Regions from separate parts of the Homo sapiens genome. Here region 1 is linked to region 2. Evidence: promoter capture Hi-C in human tissues and cell types (Jung and others, 2019). All regions are on one chromosome and are shown on one strand. Each heading gives the region's core, a stretch centred on a gene start or on the middle of the fragment in contact. The rest is flanking DNA. Distances are from core to core; before and after follow the strand shown.

Region 1 (3,649 bases), core at 56-2,555, 190 kb after region 2:
TAAAATGTGATATAAAACCAATTATAATTGAGCAGGTTCAGCTGATGCAACAAGAAAATTTAAGCCTATGACTAATGATTTAAGTATTACATTACATTTTTCTAAAAACTTCACATTAAAAATTGTAAAACTTGAGTCAGCCAAAGACTTTTTTTTTTTTCTTTTTGTATTAACAGGCTCTCATTAACTTTCAAGTGGAAACAAACAAGTATTTTGGCAATACTAAACGTAAAGTATTTCCAGTGTTTAATTCACTTCAGGACAATCACATATAAAAATAAAGCTTATCTAAATCTTAATGCTATGGAGTTTCTTGTGTGTTTCTATTGTTTGTTGTGGTATGTGTTATATTACGAATTTTTTAGAGGGGGGAATCTTGCTACATTGCCCAGGCAGGAGTGTGGTGGCTATTCACAGGTGCAAACAAAGTACGCTACAGCCTCAAGCTCTTGGCCTGAAGCAGTATTCTCGCCTCAGCCTCCTGAGTAGCTGGGACTATAGGCCCACCACTGTGCCCAGGTTATTTTTTGATATTTCCTAGAAGAACTTGGTATGTCCAGTGGCCGACTAGCTGTAATACTTGACTAAGGGGACTGTTAAGGGGCCTTCTGGTTTTTAGTGTACAAATAGCTTTCCAGATATGTAAAGGTCAATATTACTTAAACTGTGCTGTTTAATATTTGCTCCCTAATATTGTGTAGATATGCAGCTATTGTCAACATGAATTGAACTCTTACTGATATATGATTTCCAGATTTAGCTCAATCTTCCCCTCAAAAATAATTTTATTATACATAACTTAATAAATAGCAACATATTAAAGTGTAATTAGCCTTTTGAAGAAAAATAAATTCGGTTAAATAAATGCACTAACTTGTATTTATTCTTCAGTTTCATGGTGCTACCAGATGAAAGCTTCCAAGAGTAGAACATCAAGTTAACAGTACCTAATTTAAACAGATTATCGAGTTAATAATACTTAGTTCTAAAACAGACTAGCCCACAGTACCACCTATCAAATAATTACTAATTTAAGCTAGACAAAGTGAATAAAATAGAACTACAATTTCATTTTTCAAGAGTTTGGCCGTCTATTTAAAAAACTTTGTGGTAGTATGTGATATACTGTTAAGAACACTGAACTGGAAATTGGACTGCAAGTTCTGCCTTTATATAGGTTTGTGATATTAGGCAAGTTATTTAGCATCTCTAATTGGTACTTTTTTAGTCTGTAAAATGAAAAGTTTGGTCTAAACCAGTTATTACCCAAATCGTATTGAGCCATACACACGGTCATCTCCCAACACTAATTTCCTTGGTCAAATATTTTAAAAATACTACATAATCTGTAACTAGTTTAAAAATTACCAACCTGTTAGTACCTAAAATGATCTAAATCTTGTAGAGAGGAAATATAAATTTGTTTAGTGTTAATTAGATTTGCATGACAATCGAATGCGTGTGTTGTTTTAGTTTTAAGTAGCCAAACCATTTATGTTCCATTTATGTCAGATATATGTTTTCCTCAATTGCTTTTATGAAGTGCTTATCTAAATGATATATAAAGACCTTTTCAGCTCTATAATTCTTATTTTATGGCATGAATAGTCTACATGTGCTTTTACTTTCTTACTTTGAAGGAGATATTGGTATATTTTGAAATCTAGTTACCTCCAGAAGACAACTTCCATTCCTCAATGTGTACACTATCACATGTCAAGAATAAAACAGCTTAGTTTAAGCTGCAAAATTAAAGTATCAACAGTGATAGGTTTGGTATAACCTAACTCCTGTGACTTTGTTTAAAAGTCAAATATCATACATAGCGTACTTTTTGTTTGTTCGATTTTTCAATGAGCTCTGCCACAGCAGCTGAAGGGAGATTAAGGAAAAAAACCTACATAAACACAAAGCAAATACCTGAGCTTGTGTGTAAAGCTACTGCACTGGAGCAAATGTGGTTTAATTCTTGGCACTGGCAGCTTGTTGGAGAATTACAATATGTTGGCATGAGTCTCTAGGTCTCATTGTTCCAGATGAGGGAGTCGGTCTTAAGAGTGTTTGGCACTGAAGGGAAAAAGGAGTGAGAGTTATAGGGAATGAGCAGGCCCTAAAGAGGCAGGATGCTGTTGTAACAATGGCTGGCACAGTTGGGGGGGGCCATTCACTGGTGGGGATTGCCATAGGCATTGATGTGAAGAAGCATATGTGAGCAAAAGAGGCAAGAGTGAGAAGGGAAAAGCAAGCAAATGTATCAGAAGGGTCCTGTTGGCAGAAAGAAACAATAGCGAGCCAATTAGACTCATCTTAATATTAGTGTGTTGATGATGAAGGGTATATTTTATTTTGAATTTGTCTTATATCCGTCCTATTTCCTAACTTTATGTTCTTTTTTAAAATATAAGCATTTACCTTTCCCCTAAAGAGACAGATCCTGAAATTAAGAGAACCTGGTTTTGTATTCCATCTGTTCTACTTACTGATGAGCTGATGTTGGGCAAAGCATCTTTCTGAGCCTTAGTTTCCTCATCTGCAAAATGGATATAACAATTATATATGCCACTGACAAAATTGTATCTGGCAGCATTCTGTAAATGGAAATGCTATGCAAATAATGATTATTAACTCACACTTATTTTTAATCTAGGGAGCCCTAGTTCTTACTTTGAAGGTAATCATGATATTCCAGTACTTGGGAGAATGAACTCTCAGGAGGAGGAATTTTCAGGAGACTCTTTTAGAGTTAAGTGAAAAACATGACACATCTTAAAATGAAAATAGAAGAAACTCATAAATACATACATCTACTGGGTACGCACAAAAATTTAAAAAAAATTAAAGGAAACTCCAGAATTTGAACATTTGCAAATAACTGGGCACCCCACATACCATATTCATAGTACAAAATACGATTCTATGCTTGTGCATTTTTAAAATCTTATTTTAGAAAATTAAATATTTAATAGATAATTACTGTATTCACTTCATAAGCAGTGAAGCAGCACTTACACTTACATAATTGTGTCAAATTTCACTTTACTCATATTCACACGTTAACAAACAGGTGTATTGTAAATATTGGGCTTCTGCCATTTGGTCCTTTACATTTTGAAACATGCATTTTCTACCATATCTTTACCATTTTCAGAGAAATTTAATCACTGCTACATGTCCATTCATTGTGCTCATTATTATGAGATTATTTCTTACTGTTATTTCAAGAACTACCAGTGGAAACTAGCAGTTAGTAGAGTATTGAATGTGGATTTTTTTGAAGCTCTTTGCTTTACATAAATTCAGAGAGAGGGGTGAAGTGGGTGAAATGATGTCTTATGATCCCCTTCCCTCGTCACCCCCACAGGCCAATCTAGCCAGTGTCACTGTCTTGGAGAGAACCCAGGTTGTTTGAATTATAGCCCAATATTCCTTCTACTATATAAGTAAAATTAATTTCATTGTATATCTCTGCTATATACTTATAGGTTGTCACTAAATTATCCAGAATCCTAGAGTGCAAGGCATATAATTGGACCACACCCTGAAAACAAAAACTGTAAAAAAGCCTACCTTTTAATTCCACAGTTGCTGCTCATACATATGTGTTACCCTAGAACATTTATCAAGTTTTTACTTCATCTATCCAAGGGAG
Region 2 (3,493 bases), core at 22-2,521:
TAAGTGTGTGCTTACTCCCTGACCAGATGCTGCGGTGCACGGGGCAGCCACCATCTCTGCATGCATGTCTGTGTAAGTGTCTCTCTCTCTGTGTGTATGTGCCTCTGTCATTTCGTGTCAAAGGTACATTACCTGATTACCTTTCTCGGCTGCCAGATTTTTATCTAGATAATTGGAACTGCTATGGAGGCTGTGCCTTGCCAGCCAGCTTAGAATCTGTAAAGCCATAGTTTGTCCACCTTGTTATCTGTGGCTGCCTGGGCAGAGGAAATTAAAGAGATCCACAGCCAGGGGGGCGCTTCCTACTCCTGACCTCCCCAGCGATCCCAAACAGGACAGTTTGTTAGTACCGTCTTTTTGTTTTTATGTTTTGATTTCGTTTTGGGTTTTTGTTCGCTCGTGTATGTTATTTTGGCATGTGGATACCTATTCCCCTCCACATCGCACATCGTGTTTTATGGAGTTTAGAGCTGAGGAAACTTTGGTCGGGTTGCCAGGACGTTCGCACCACTTTGCGGAAAGCACGAGCTAACAGTGAGACCGACAGAGTGAGTGACAAGTTGTTTACAGGTTTCCTTGAAGGGGCCTCTGCTATATTTCAATCTGTCAAAGTTGCTTTTCTTCCCTCAGAACAATGCCTGATTGTTGTGTGTGTGTGAGTGTGTGTGTGTGTGTGTGCGTGTATTTCCGTGTGTGAACGGAGAGAGCCTAGAAAAGGGTGAGAAGGAATAACAATTCTTTGTGTAAAAATGCTATTACTAACATTAAATTTTTTGCTTAATTAGTTAATAAATGCAGTTTAATCGAGCTTCTGTTATTATATAGACTAGGTTTTTAATCAGCAGCAAATACGTTTTACAAAATCATACTGTTCTGCGTGTGTATGTGTGTGTGTGAGTTTTATGATTTAGAAGACAGAGTATGGGAGACGTGTTAAATGAGTTGACTTCTCACATTCAGTGATGTCTAGAAGAGAGAATTAAAAGGAAAGGACAGGCACCCTGAGGTTGTCTAGAGCCTTGCAGCCGGAGCGTGTGGCTCCGCGGAGGGGGGAGCAGCCAGACTCCGCTGCTGGAAGTGCACTACCCCTTTAAGAGACTGGTCAAGGAGTCCTAGGAGAGAGAGGAGGGGAAGGAGGGGGGGAGAAAGAGAGAGAGAGAGAGAGAGAGAGAGACAGAGAGAGAGAGGGAGAGAGAGAGAGAGAGAGAGGGAGGGAGGGAGGGGGGGAAGAGACAGAGAGAAAATCAATTGGTTTAGAAGGTTTGGACTCACTTGACAGGTTCAGTTGGAGACGATCATAGGTGGCTGCTGTGACAAAGGGAAATTGTGCTTTTCCAGCATGCTTACTGACCCTGATTTACCTCAGGAGTTTGAAAGGTGAGTACAGTTTTTTCCCCCTAATATATTGAAGTACAACTCTCCCATTTTACAGTAGTCTCTGAATCATTGGAAGATGCTCCCCCAAAACGTGTTTGTTAGAGAAGCCTTTAGCTAGGGCTTCTGCAATCTTGTTAGCTGATTTTTTGTTGTGATTGCCCGGACCAAACTGAACTGATTTGCAAAGTCTCCGAGATTTCTGCTAATGTTTTTAGGTTGCGTCCTATAACAGCAAATTAAATGAACCTTAAGCATCTCTCTCTCTCTCCCCAACTCGCTGCTTCTGTCTTTCTCATTCACTCTCTTACTTTCTTCCTTCATTGATTGTTTTCTCCCCACCTTTTAAAAACGCTTTTGTGCAGAATGTTACCATTTTCAGCATCTCTGTCTCATGTAATTTCTAGGGTGACAGAAGGTTTTAGTGGTGCTTTAAACGGAGGCTATAAGTTCCTATTTGATCCTTCCGTAAAACTTTGGAAGCTGCTCAGTAAAGCACATGACCTTTTGTTGATATAAGAGAGCGTTTTTTCCCCCCAAAGAAAATTTAACATCATCGCTATATTAGATTACTCCCTAAGTGTCAAAAATAGGGGCGAAAAGGGGATAAATGGAGCTGTTCCCTTTCTAAGTTTTAGTGGCCACTTTTTGTGTTAGCTGTCTTGACTGAATTTTAATTTACTGTATTTTCCCCTTTTGCTATGATGGGAATAGTGTATTTGTAATTAAGTTGTTCCTATTTAGAGAAATATCTGCAGCATCCTTTTATTTGATGTTGTTGCAAGTAAAGCAGGGCTTTGAAAGAATTTTAGCCCTCTTAATGTTCCTATAAGTACACATTGCAATTTTTAAATTTGAGTTCTTATCCCAGCATAAGTTCATTTTTTTGAACTATAAATAGAATTTTGTTTGCCATTAAAAAGAATTCAAACTTTGTATTCTGTATGGTGAATTAAAAAAAAAAAAGCTAAAAAAAGCCAGGATGCATGATACCCAGGCTTTTTTTCATTTTCATGAAAGCTACCTTCTGTATAAACATTTGTTGTATCTGACTATGCAATGCAAGCTAGGTGCTAGACCAGCTGGTTAAAAATATGCTAAGTCAAGCTGTTCATCGCTCAAACGACTGAATTTGATATGAAAAGACGAAAAAAGAAAGGACAAAGATTAAAACATTCTAGAAGTGAAGCAATGGAAGAGAAAAAGAGTATTGAGGATAAAGTAACGCTTGAATGTGGTCACATATTAGAAAAGCCAGTATCAAATCAGGGAAGAAAGTAAAATAGCCAACACATATACTTCGGTGCTGTCATCTTTCTTTGATTTCTTCTGTGTTTTTTTTTTTAATAATTAAATTGCATCTTTACTAGATAATTCCAGCGAATGTTTGAGCTTTCTTAACAGTTTTGAATTAAAATTTTCACTTCTATATATTAACTCTTTAATTAGTGAGCTTTTATTTGCAAATATAGCCTTATATCATAGGTAGATGTTGAAGTTATTCATAGTGGAACATACTGTACATTACCTAATGTAGCGATTTGCTAATTTAACACAGTTAAGTTTTCTAGAATGCACAGAGTAGCACTTAAATGATAATATTCTTTAATTCTAATTATACTTTTTGCAAATACAACTCTGAGGCTGATTTGTAAGCCTGTTAACAGATTGTACTTATAAAAAGGTAGTTACATATTAACAGGCTGTAGCCTATTTCTCTATATAGGCAAGCTTCCTGCTGTGAACTTTATTTGTATTTTTTTTTCAATTATCTCTTTTTAAACTAAACTTTTCCCTTTCCTATTCTGATGCTCAAATCTGTTAACATCTTTTTTCCTCCTGGTGGGAATTTCATTTTTTTTTTTCACCCAGAGGCATGCTTTTCTAACTAGCTAATTAAATAAGCAAGTGATAATCAATAGGGTTGTTAGTATGACTATCATATTTAGAAATATTAGTAGCTAAAATAATTCTGAAAAATGTCACACAATATAACGTTCCTTAATAATTTCCCCTGTGGTTGTAATTGGTAATACATACAAAGATCTCAGCAAATCATTACTATTTGTTTACATTGAATTTGTACGGGTGAGTGTCTCTATAGGCACCCATGCATGAT

Evidence for each region. The method cuts DNA at HindIII sites, captures the fragments that hold promoters and counts their contacts. A contact is called where the count stands out against the background at its distance.
Region 1: a contact is called between a fragment that was not itself captured here and the fragment with the promoter of SOX5 in region 2, in 2 of the 25 tissues and cell types used here (heart right ventricle and stomach).

Annotation. Positions count from the first base shown.
Region 1 is chr12:23,759,125-23,762,773 of GRCh38, reverse strand. The region is part of intron 3 of SOX5 (SRY-box transcription factor 5); the gene reads left to right. Among named protein-coding and RNA genes, the nearest start is that of SOX5, 190 kb to the left of the region's middle. The HindIII fragment of the contact is 3,281 bases long and covers 1-2,945 here.
Region 2 is chr12:23,947,448-23,950,940 of GRCh38, reverse strand. It overlaps SOX5 (SRY-box transcription factor 5), which reads left to right and starts at 1,271. Exons shown (of 15, transcript NM_006940.6): 1 at 1,271-1,377. The coding sequence starts at 1,340. The HindIII fragment of the contact is 5,378 bases long and covers 1-3,493 here.